Linked DNA regions of Homo sapiens: all the other regions are linked to region 4. Evidence: promoter capture Hi-C in 16 types of primary human blood cells and fetal thymus (Javierre and others, 2016). All regions are on one chromosome and are shown on one strand. The core of a region is centred on a gene start or on the middle of the fragment in contact, and the rest is flanking DNA. Distances in the headings are between cores, read along the strand shown. Region 1 has its middle 20 kb from the start of UCN3. Region 2 has its middle 30 kb from the start of LINC02561. Region 3 has its middle 40 kb from the start of UCN3. Region 4 holds the start of AKR1C3 (aldo-keto reductase family 1 member C3).

Evidence for each region. Contacts are between HindIII fragments. The CHiCAGO score rates a contact against its expected background, and 5 or more counts as called.
Region 1: a fragment that was not itself captured here is called in contact with the fragment with the promoter of AKR1C3 in region 4 in 9 of 17 cell types (M0 macrophages, M2 macrophages, non-activated CD4 T cells and 6 more); the score reaches 10.5 in M0 macrophages.
Region 2: a contact is called between a fragment that was not itself captured here and the fragment with the promoter of AKR1C3 in region 4, in 7 of 17 cell types (M0 macrophages, monocytes, M1 macrophages and 4 more). The highest score is 11.0, in M0 macrophages.
Region 3: a fragment that was not itself captured here is called in contact with the fragment with the promoter of AKR1C3 in region 4 in 5 of 17 cell types (M1 macrophages, monocytes, M0 macrophages and 2 more); the score reaches 8.5 in M1 macrophages.

What each region holds. Positions count from the first base shown.
Region 1 is chr10:5,343,467-5,346,543 of GRCh38, forward strand. No RefSeq gene overlaps it. Among named protein-coding and RNA genes, the nearest start is that of UCN3, 20 kb to the right of the region's middle. The HindIII fragment of the contact is 7,410 bases long and covers 1-3,077 here.
Region 2 is chr10:5,299,700-5,302,898 of GRCh38, forward strand. No RefSeq gene overlaps it. Among named protein-coding and RNA genes, the nearest start is that of LINC02561, 30 kb to the left of the region's middle. The HindIII fragment of the contact is 6,366 bases long and covers 1-3,199 here.
Region 3 is chr10:5,323,373-5,326,354 of GRCh38, forward strand. No RefSeq gene overlaps it. Among named protein-coding and RNA genes, the nearest start is that of UCN3, 40 kb to the right of the region's middle. The HindIII fragment of the contact is 4,550 bases long and covers 1-2,982 here.
Region 4 is chr10:5,093,115-5,096,030 of GRCh38, forward strand. It overlaps AKR1C3 (aldo-keto reductase family 1 member C3), which reads left to right and starts at 1,300. Exons shown (of 9, transcript NM_003739.6): 1 at 1,300-1,414. The coding sequence starts at 1,331. LOC124900291 (U8 small nucleolar RNA) reads right to left here and starts at 429; the gene lies at 294-429. RefSeq lists an enhancer at 1,143-1,437. The HindIII fragment of the contact is 2,243 bases long and covers 206-2,448 here.

The DNA of each region.
Region 1 (3,077 bases), core at 569-3,068, 250 kb after region 4:
GGAAATTTGGAGAAGGATTTTAGGGGGGTTGGTGCAGTGATTTTCAGCCTTGGCTACACATTACAATCACCTGTGTAGCTTTTAAGAAATCCTGATATCTGAGGGTGCACTCCAAACTTTTTAAATGAGATTCTGAGCTGGTAGGGGCCAGGGAGGAATATTTTTTAAGTCTCTCTAGATGATGATTTGAATGGGCAGCCAAGATTGAGAACTCATTAGTGGTTAGTGGTTTTCATGGTGTGCTCCTGGACCAGCGGACGTGTGGCATGAACATGTCACCATCCTGGAGCAGCAGAGCCCCCTGTGGATTCTATAAGTCATGGCCCAGAGTCACGGCTGGCAAGAGAAGCAGTGAGCAGTGGGCAGGAATGATTGGTTACCACATGCACACACCCCAGCAGAAGCCCAGAAATATTTGGGGAGGCGGTCTATGAAAGACCCACTTTTCTCAGTTGGATGGGAGCTTATGGGAAGTGAGAATTTTGTGTTAATTTTAATGGGAATCAATCTAAACTCTCCCAGCTGGTAAGCCTGAAATCTTTGATTATAATGATATAGAAATATAACTTTATTATAAAGTTTGCACCGTATTTGTCCTTTGTTCTCTGAGTGTCATGATCACATAACTGCAGGGTTGGCTCTCGTGAAGATTCTGTGCTGGCCATAACATCCACACTGGGCTGGTGCTGGCACGTACCCCTCAGGCCCAGCCACATGGGAATTGTTGTCCAGTGCTGTGTCACGCTTACCAGGAGGCCAAGCAGCTGCTGCTGCTACTGCATAATTATTTCCTCCTGTCTTTATCCCCAAAATTCTACTCTTTGGGCCTTAGGTTGCATTCTCATATATTCCCATTGAAGAGTATAGATTGGCATAATCCATGGGGGAGATTTGGCAATAGTTTTCAAAATTATAAAAAGTACAGATGCTTTGATCCAGCCATTCCTCTCCTAGGAACTTATCCTACAGATATACATATGCAGAAGTTTACTTGTAATTGCAAAGGATTGGAAACATCTCAAATGACCATCAACATGGGACTGCTTTAATTAATTATGAGACATCTTAAGTTGGAGTATGAAAGATTCAGGAAGTGTTTTTTATCATTGTGGTAAAAGGGGAGGCAAAAGAATATACATGTATATATACATATTATATATATGTTATTTTTTAGTGTCCCCAGAAGGAAATACAAGAAATGTGTAAGTTTGGTTTCCTCCCAAGAGAGAATTAGATGGCCAGGGGACAAGGGTGGAAGGTAGATTTTTCACAGTGTGCCTTTGTATACTTCTCATATTTTTAAACATACAGATGAGTTACTTATTCAAGTAAATAATTTTAGATTGCATATTAGCTCTGTTAATGATACAACAAGTAACACATCTTTAAGTTTACCAAACTTTCACAATACTTTTCCCTGCCTTCTTCTCTGGAAGGAAGAATTAAATATAGAAGCACTTGTATAGAGAGGAGAGTAGTTAATGGTTACCAGAGGCTATGAAGAGGTGGGGATTAAAGAGAGATTGGTTAATGGGTACAGAAATACAGGGGTGGGGATTAAACAGAGATTGGTTAATGGGCACAGAAATACAGTTAAATGGATCTAGAACTAGAAATACCATTTGACCCAGCCATCCCATTACTGGGTATATACCCAAAGGATTATAAATCATGCTGCTATGAAGACACATGCACACGTATGTTTATTGCGGCACTATTCACAATAGCAAAGACTTGGAACCAAGCCAAATGTCCAACAACAATAGACTGGATTAAGAAAATGTGGCACATATACACCATGGAATACTATGCAGCCATAAAAAATGAAGAGTTGATGTCCTTTGTAGGGACATGGATGAAACTGGAAACCATCATTCTCAGCAAACTATCACAAGGACAAAAAACCAAACACCGCATGTTCTCACTCATAGGTGGGAATTGAACAATGAGAACACATGGACACAGGAAGGGGAACATCACACTCTGGGGACTGTTGTGGGGTGCGGGGATGGGGGAGGGATAGCATTAGGAGATATACCTAATGCTAAGCGATGAGTTAATGGGTGCAGCACACCAACATGGCACATGTATACATATGTAACAAACCTGCACATTGTGCACGTGTACCCTAAAACTTAAAGTATAATAATAAAATTAAAACAAAAAAAGAAATACAGTTAAATAGAAGGAATAAAGTCTAGTGTTCTATAACACAGTAGGATGACTACAGTTAACCACAACTTACAGTATATTTCCAAGTAGCCAGAAGAAAAGATTCTACACGTTCCCAACACAAAGAAATGATACATGCTTGAGGTGATGGATATCCTAAATACTATGATTTGATCATTGCACAGTGTATGCATGTATCGAAACCCCATTGCTACTTACTGGTACATATTGCATGTACCCCAATTATTAGGCATCAGTAAAAACAGATAACAAATATTAAGAGAAAGGAATTTGAGACAAGAAGACAGCAGCATTGCTCCAAGTAAATGATGAACTTCTTTCCCGCTGGAAATGGATCAGTCCTCCTCCAATTCCCAAATTAAATATCAGCCTAGGTGTCCAAGAACCTCTCCCTGGCCCCAACACTGGATAGAGTCCCCTCCTGGACATCTTCCTAGCAGATGGGCTCCCCTCCATAGCTGCAGGCAGTCCCCTCACTGCCACACCAGCTGTCTTCCCAAAGATCAGGTTCAATGGACCTTAAATCTCAGTCTTGTTAATGCTGCCTGGACTGTAAATTGGCACAACCACTGAAGAGGGAAAATTGGCAATCTTTATTAAATATTACAATATTTTTATAAAGTATCAAAGTATAGATACCTTGATCCAACAGTTCTTAGACACATAACCTGACATGTGAGGATTAAAAAAATGAATGGAAATTATCCATTTCAACAGGAAATAAATTTCTAGATTATTCTGAGAGATGCTATTCTGGGAGCAAGCATCTTGACTGTGAAGCCTGTCTCAATCCCCAGAAGTCAGGGCTGCCTCTCACACCTACAGCCACTCAATCAATATTTATGCAAATAAATGACCTTACCAGGAACTCAGGCTTCTTTTGT
Region 2 (3,199 bases), core at 276-2,775, 210 kb after region 4:
GTGTTTAGAAACTAGCTTTTGTTGTTATTTCCTTCAGAATTTTTTTTAATTTTCTTTTTCTGTTTTATTTATACTTTTTACAAATCAAGAGCTGACTTTCAATAGATCACAGCGAGGGAGCTGCTCTGCCCTGTATAAAGCCCTGACCCAGAAGTAGGTTGTCTACAAATGATTTAGGTTCACCATGAACATGCACTGTGTGACAGGCCAGATTTTCGATTATTGTTAGAGAATTCTTAAACATCTGTGTCACAATCTCATGTTTATTTACAGAACTTTCTTTCGTATCTTCACCAGAATCTCCCTGAGAAGAAAGCAAGCCTCTCACTCAAGTTCTCGAGATAGATAATTTCTCTCTTCCTCAGTTAGAACTATAACAAACCGGCTCTCTTGGGCTGTTCTTGGGCTGTTTTTGGAAAACAATTTCCCCAGGGAGTCCAAATAGACTCTCCCTCTATTGTTCTGGCCATTTAATGTTTTTAACAGGGTCCCCCTTCTCTGCTAACATGAGTGATCAAGGCAAGAATAGCTTGGAAAGTGTTTAAGTTTGGGGTAACACTCCACCTGACTAACAGTTGTTTTCTTGTTACTGTTGGGGTTGTTTTTTATGTTTTTGTTTTTGTGTTTTGTTTTGTTTTGTTTTTTTTTGAGAGGGAGTCTCACTCTGTTGCCCAGGCTGGAGTGCAGTGGTACAATCTCGGCTGACTGCAAGCTCCGCCTCCCGGGTTGACGCCATTCTCCTGCCTCAGCCTCCCGAGTAGCTGGAACTACAGGCACCCGCCACCACGCCTGGCTAATTTTTTGTATTTTTAGTAGAGACGGGGTTTCACCATGTTAGCCAGGATGGTCTCGATCTCCTGACCTCGTGATCTGCCCGCCTCGGCCTCCCAAAGTGCTGGGATTACAGGCGTGAGCCACTGCACCCGGCCTGTTGCTGTTGGAGTTTTTTTGAGACAGGGTCTCAATCTGTTGCCCAGGCTGGAGTACAGTGGCATGATTATAGCTCACTGCAGCCCCAATCTCCTGGGCTCAAGCAATCCTCCCACCTCAGCCTCCTGAGTAGCTAGGAATACAGTCACGCACCACCATGCCTGGCTGATTTTTTTTTAATTTTTAGTAGAGATGAGGTCTCACGATGTTGCCCAGGCTGGCCTAAAACTCCTGAGCTCAAGTGATCCTTCTGCCTCAGCCTCCCAAAATGCTGGGATTAGAGGCATGAGCCACTATGCCTGGCCATGAATAATAGCTGTATCTCTTCAGGGTTCACAGAGTCATTAACTTTTGCATTTTGTGGGAATTTAACAAGTCCTGACAGGCATAGCAGTATGCAGGATTGTAAATTATCTGAAACAATCATAAGGTTTTGTAGATTACAGAAAATCTGACGATGTTAACCTATCATGATCTATAAAATACGCTAGCTTTTGATCACCCCGGAAGATATTTTATTTTATTCCTCATTCTATTGCTGTGCCAGTGGGTCAAAGTCTCCTTCATCCTTTGCTCCTGTCAGTCTGTGTGTGTCTTCTCCCTGCATTTTGGTAATGTTTTCTCTTCACCATTATCTTGATAGATGCCCACCTCCTCATCCTATTGCCAGTAAGTTAAATACAATCTTCTTTGCATCCATCCCACATCCAGGGCAACTGCACGAAAACAGGCAGTGAGGGAAGCAAATATGGCAAATATCAAAGCCATAACTCCTACTTACCTTGTCAATTGCTCTGAGTAACAGCGGTGTACTCCTCAGAGAAATCCTGCTCATCACTGGAAAGTGTCCTAACAAACCCTATTGGTTCAGAGCATTGTGTACCTACACCTGAGTCACTGAGAACAGGACGCTTTCTTACCAAATAAACCTATAAAGTTCAATTACACTCTTTCTGGTGCTACCAAATCCATTCACCTGAATTGTAATGGGTTCTGAGTATCATAGACAATTTCACTTAAGTTGAATGCACATTTATAGAACATTTTAAAGTGTACAAAGCACTCTCAAAAACATGAACTCATTCATTGAAAGCATGCTTTCTAGAATCCAAATCATAGCTCTTTTCTTTTAAAATCCCTGGTGTTGTCTCTACATGAGATTGCTTTTCTTATAGAAAGTTTTAGAGCAAGACAGCTAGTAAGCCTTGATGTCTGCTGCACTTGACCTTGCAGAAATCAATATTATTTTATAATATTGTCACAATTATGACCACAAATTCATCTCTATACAGAAGACCCTGAATATATGCCAAAGAAAAAATTTAATCCATAATTCAGATTGTTCTTATAGCTAGGACTTTGAAATTCTTCAGGTGGTAATAATTCCAGTAGAAATCCAAGATGTTACATCTTATGCATATAATGCCTAATCAGATCCAGTAAAGGCTACATCCTTTTGAGAACATGTTGGGCCAACAGAAACTTCAAAACTGAAATCCAGAAACTCAACTAAATTTGTCTTTAGTGTTTCAAAAGCTCATGGGCAGCTGTCATTTTATATTTGTGTGGTATTTGATGTCTTTCTTTCTCCTTTGATTTTTCTGGAATATAACAAATTTAGTAACCTAGCAATGACCACTTTCTATAAGCCATCTCTACCATCCAAACAAAATTGGGATATCTTTACTTCCTGGCCAATTCCAGATATTGGCTACATTCTAATAGAATTTACCCTCATTTCCTTCAATACCCTCATCATTTAAAGGAAATTCTCTAAAATGTGTCGGTTCAAACGTCTCATAGATCCTTCAGTTTTCTTGCCAAATCACGTATGACAGTTTACTGACCCCTGATTTGGTGAAAGGGTTTGTAGTCTTTTGGGTACTCTTGCTCCCATTAGTCATTTTCAGGAGTTGGTCTGGAAATGTCTGCTGTCCCTTCAGAGACAGAGCAATATTATCTGTGAGTTTAAAAGCCAAACTGTCTCTATAATAAACATGTCACATATTAATCAAGGAGCTTCCCAGTTTTTACTTTTTCATTTATTTTTTAGAGATGGGGTCTCACTGTGTTACCCAGGCTAGACTCAAACTCTAGGGCTTAAGTCATCCTTCTACCTCAGCCTCCCATATGGCTGGGACTATAGGGGTATACCACCATGCCTAGCTGCCCTATTTTTTTTTTTTTTGAGATGGAGTCTTGTTCTGTTGCCTAGGCTGGAATGCAGTGGTGCAATCTCGGCTCACTGAAACCTCTGCCTCCCGGGTTC
Region 3 (2,982 bases), core at 346-2,845, 230 kb after region 4:
GCCCAGGAGTACCGGGATTCCAGTTCCCTCTGAGCCACCCCAAGGGGGAAAGAAAGGGGAGGCCTGCCCCATGATGAACAAGAAGTTCCAGGTAAAATTAGATTTAATAAAACAATTTCACTGCTTTAAAAATAAAAAAGAAGAAAGATACTGAAAACCACTGACAATGCAATCACTTATTCTTCTGAACTTGAAATACTGGTTTCTTCTTTAAGAACAAGACAAAAGAAGTGTTACTTTGCACACCGTGACGTCGTTGGTCTTTGGAACTTGTTTTCCTTTGAGGTATTACGGGTTGGAAAACACAACAGTTCATCTGTGTGGCTTACATTCTTACTGAGTGTCTACTCTGTGTCAGGGACACAGTGTTAAGACATGCACCTTTACCTATTGCATGGAGTTTATATTTTCAGAGTTGAAAAAAATCATTTAAAAAAGAGATCCACTATTAGCAAAGAAAAGATGGGAATGTCTTCCCACAAAATTTCTAAGTCTTAGAGTGTGAACCTGCATAGACAGGAGGCTCCAGCAGAGTGGTTTACTTTACTCATTTCCCATACACCAGCTTTAGAAAACCATAATTCTTTTGGGAGGATGAGGCAAGCAGATCACTTAAGGTCAGGAGTTCGAGACCAGCTTGGCCAACATGGTGAAAACCTGTCTCTACTAAAAATACAAAAATTTGGCGGCACAGTGGCGGGCGCCTGTAATCCCAACTACTGGGGAGGCTGAGGCAGGAGAATTGCTCGAACCAGGGAGGCAGAGGTTGCAGTAAGCGGAGATCTACCACTGCACTCCAGCCTGGGTGACAGAGCAAGACTCCATCTCAAAAAAGAAAGAAAGAAAGAAGAAAGAAAGAAAGAAAGAAAGAAAGAAAGAAAGAAAGAAAGAAAGAAAGAAAGAAAGAAAGGAAGAAAGAAAGAGAGAGAGAGAGAAAGAGAGAGGGAGGGAGGGAGGGAGGGAGGAAGGAAGGAAGGAAGAAAGAAAGAAAGAGAAAGAAAGAAAGAAAGAAAGAAAGAAAGAAAGAAAGAAAGAAAGAAAGAAAGAAAGAAAGAAAAAGAAAGAAAGAAAGAAAGAAAACTGTAATTCTAACAGCGCTTGGAATCAAAGCCAGCCCTGGACAAGACTGGAAACTGGCCTGATTGGTGTTTGGTTGATTCTTAGCCCCTGATCCACGCCTCTCCCTTCCTCTCCCAACCTGTGCTTTGTTCCATTGCCTTCTGGCTTGACCAAGCCCCCTGCCTCTAATGGTTGAAGAAATTCCTCTTTCCATGGCATTTGGAGCTAAATCTGAGTTTCCTGAAGGCTGACAAGCCTCAAAGCAGAAAGCCTCTGCCACTGTGATTGCAGACTCCGCGACAGTGCAGTGGGAGGAAGGGTTTGAACTGTGCTCTTCGCTGAGGAACGGGCACTGCCTCCTCCCAAGACTCAAGACAGGGGACACAAGACAGAGGCACAGGTGCTCCAGGGACCTAACACAGGAGTGCTGTTTGCCAGCCTGCATGTGGGTGGGAAGGGGAAGCTGTCCCAGCCCCCTCCGAGTTTTACTGTAGGCTCAATTATAAATCCACCTCACACGACCTCATCCCCTCCCCAGGCTAACTGAACCAGAGCCCTTTCCTTCCCCCTTTGATGGAGATGACCAGCAAAGCCCTTGGCTTAAATGAGTTTCTCTGTTCCTCAGTGATCAGATTTGACTCTGATTTGATTTCAAATGCAGAGAACACAGATAAATCATTGTGCTGCGCTTAATAGAATTGAAGACCTTGTCTCCTGTCCACATTGTGACAGCAGAGAAGGTGGGGGCCAAGGACAGGGGAAGCAGAAACCAGTGAGGCAGAGCAAAGACTGCGTAAGTTCGTGTGGTCATCCCAGAAGGGAGAACAAGACGGTGTCCAGAGCTGCCTTTCTTCCTGCCTGCACTCGAAACCACAGCCCCACAGGGAAATCAATTCCTGCCTCCCCCAGAGACATTATAGAGCAGAGGCGATGATTTCAGTTTCCAGGCCTCCCAGAGCCACCAGCCTGAAGCTGTTCCCCAGCCTCCACTCCAGCACATCCCTGGCTTCCTTTGGCCTCAGCCTTTGGCTACCTGTCTCCCTCCTCTTTCTGTCCAGGTTCACTACCGAATCTCAGTATTTCCTGTCTCTCAGTTTCTTCTATCTCAACTGAGGACAGCCCATGTGACCCTGAATTAGTGCTCACTCAGACAGCCGTGGGGTCCTTAGTCATCTTTCTCTAAAATCTCAGTCTCCACCTCCTTCTAGCCCACTTCCATCCGTATTTTGGCCAAACTCCACAGCTAGGATAGGATTCCTTATGAGCTCAGTGACCTTCACTGAGGCCACTGCACCACCCAGGCTACTCTGGGGGTTGGCATGAAGGATGAGATGCAGGACTCTGTGGGTTTCATCTGTTTTCTTTTGCTGTGTCTTTTACCAAGATGTTGGTCAAGGTTCTTGGTTGCAAACTCTGGATAGCGGATTTGGTTTGGATACTTGTACCATTCAAGTGTCATGTTGGAATGGGATCTCCAGTGTTGAAGGTGGGGCCTAGTGGGAGATGTTTGGGTCATGGGGTTGGATCCCTCATGAGTGGCCTGGTGCCCTCCCCGAGGTAATGAGTGAGTTCTCACTCTGTTAGTTCCTGTGAGCTGGTTGTTTAAAAGACTCTGGCACCTCCTCCTCCCCTCTCCTTTGCTCCCTCTCTCGCCATGTGACACACCTGCTCCCCCTCCGCCTCCTGCCGTGAGGAAATGCTTCCTGAGCCTGCAGAACCAGGAGCCAAATAAACCTCTTTTCTTTATAAATTACCCAGCCTCAGGTATTCCCTTGTAGCAATGCAAAATGGACTAACACAAGAGTTTAAACTGAAAAGGAATTTACTTAAGGATGGTAAGTAGGAGAATCATGATGGTCCACAGAGCTAGCCTCTACTCTAGGCCTCCAGGAACAATGCTCGATCGCACCGTGGGGCAACTTC
Region 4 (2,916 bases), core at 50-2,549:
CACCCCAGCTTCCCCTCAATGGGTTAGACGGACTATTGCACGTCTCTTCCCCTAATCTCTTGCCCTTGGCATCATACTACATTTCTACTCAGCACCCCCATAAATAAATAAGTTTATTTTAGTCAATTTCAGATCACTTCTTGACGCGTCCATGAGACAAGTAGGGGCCTTTTGATCCACCATATTGCTGAAATCACTCTGTAAAAGCTTTCAATGATTTTATATTATATTGTATCAATGTATAATAATTAACTTATTTCTCAACTTACTTTTTGGTTATTATTTGAGGAAAAGTAAATAGAACGAAATCAGGGCATTGCAAGTTCTGACAACTCCAAGATGTTGATAATGTATTGTGCAAACTACATTCATCATGTTCTAATCTGCCCTCCAAAGGAAGGAACAAGTGAAAACTATCCCACATGAGAATTATTCATCCATTTATATGTAATTAATTTCCAGTTTTTCCTTACAAATAATGTTTAACAAGATGACAGATTATATAAAATGGTTATCAGTTTTTTGGCTAGTTACTTCTTGATAGTCTGTAATAAACCTGGTTGAAGAACAAATACTATTAAGGCACTGCTTGCATATATTAAATGATGTCCAAACTCCAAAAACTGTTAATAATTAACACTCCAATAAAAACTACACCAGAATTTCTTTTTATTTGCACCCTCATCAGGATTACAGCTTTATCAGGACTGCATCTTCTTCAGAAATGAATATTTCTCTTACAACGCAAAGAAAGAAAAATCAAAATAAATTTTCTGATTGAAAATGTAAAAAGGCAAATATTTTTACAGTTTTAACTTTAATTTTTTATTGAGGACCAACTATTTGAAAAATTCTCATTAGTCATTCCTTTAAATTATGTGTATGTGAGAGAAAGACGTAAGATGGTTAATTATTTCAAATGATGCAGTATAAAGAAGGGGCATTATCACGGCAGAAACGAAAAAAGATATTTGTAGCTGGAGGTTTTTATAGTCTAACATATGGTTGCTATTTGTTCTACAAATCCTTTTGAATAATTTAATATAGAGATTTAGAATAGAAAATAATACTTTAGATAGAAATTAATGAGTTTATTATAACCATATATTATAATAATTTACTTAGGAATTCTCTTTGATAAGAAACAAATGAACTGAATGCAATTTTCTCCACAGACCATATAAGACTGCCTATGTACCTCCTCCTACATGCCATTGGTTAACCATCAGTCAGTTTGCAGGGGTGGGGGGAGGGGTTTCCTGCCCATTGTTTTTGTAATCTCTGAGGAGAAGCAGCAGCAAACATTTGCTAGTCAGACAAGTGACAGGGAATGGATTCCAAACACCAGTGTGTAAAGCTAAATGATGGCCACTTCATGCCTGTATTGGGATTTGGCACCTATGCACCTCCAGAGGTAAGAATAATTCCTTTTAGTTTTCGGATTTCAAAAGAATAAACCTAGTAGAAGTGAAACCCGTATTGGGTTGTAAGGTTCGTGTTCCTACCTTACTCTGGATGACTCACTGGTCTAGGTTTCCTAGGCTAGGAGAAAAAAGTAGGCAATCCTTGTTCTGCATTGAGGTCCATTCCTATGGTCACGTACTGCTTATTTTTCGTTTGTGCACTGTTTCTTTCTTCTGTTCATGTCTAGTTCCCAGCTTGGCAGAATATGTAAAACTCAGTATTGAAGAACACTGTTGGTCATCTCCCTCTGGTGGAGATTAATTGCAATAGGAGTGATTTCTCTGTTTCTACAACTGAAGAAATCTTTCCATCTTCCAAGAACATACGATCCAGAGAAATACTTATAGCAAAAATTACTGGATATGGTGTGCACAAAACTGTCGGCAGAGTATCACTGTTCTGATGGGCGGCAGTGAGTGCCACCCAGTATTACCGGACCTGGACTAGAGTTTCCACTGTACTATTTCACTTTTAAAAAGAACTTCCTGAAAGAAAAAAATACCACCTCATTTTAAGTAAAATCTAGAACCTAACAAAGGAAAGTCTAAATTCTTAGTCCTTTTTTGTATGCATCATATTTGTATCAAAGTGGTAGGAGTGGTCTTCTGACACAAAAATGAACAAAATGGAGACCTCATTTTCTAGATAGAACTTGTATTCCAAGACTGTCCTCAGGCTACTAAGTGTGTGAATAGGAACTAATTATTGAAATTTGAGTCTCTCACTTTATCGATAAGTTGTGATGATCTACAAGGATACATTTTCTAGACCAGTGACAAAAGTGGTTTAATTTTTAATATAAATTGGCATGGGCAGGAAATGAAAATAACGACACAACTGAAGCTCCAGCCTTGGTAAACCTTTGAGTGTTGGCACACTTAAAGACTGCTCTCAAAAAAGATTTAAAAAAAAAAAAAAAGACTGTTCTCAGGAGATGGCGGGGAGACCGTTATCTAGTTCCTTGTAATTTCAACGAAACAAGAAAGCTTCTTTAAATACATGTAAAAATGAAAACAGTTTATTTATATTTTTGTCATTAAAAAATACCTTTCAAATCTTTATCCAAATTTGGTCAATAAGTCAGTAATTTTAAATTTCACTGGAATTCTGTCTTTCCTGAAAGAGATAGCCTTATTTTTTATGGCAGAACTGTACCTTAGTAAATTCTTAACAGATTTCAGTGAATTTTTAATGTACAAATCGATATCCTCAGAGTATACATCTTTACCCCTAGTGTTCAGTTCTGTTGTGTAGCCAGAATGACTATGCAGAAAAGACTTAATAGACTACTATTCACAGATGCTTTATTTCCCAAGTGAACCCTAGTTGGGTCGATGTAACTAGCATCCAGTCAAAATCTCAAGAACTGAGACACCAAAGAACATCTCTTGTAGACAGCATTTCCCAAATACGATGTTGGAGGAAGTCTGAGTGAGCATTCTGTGTAATATC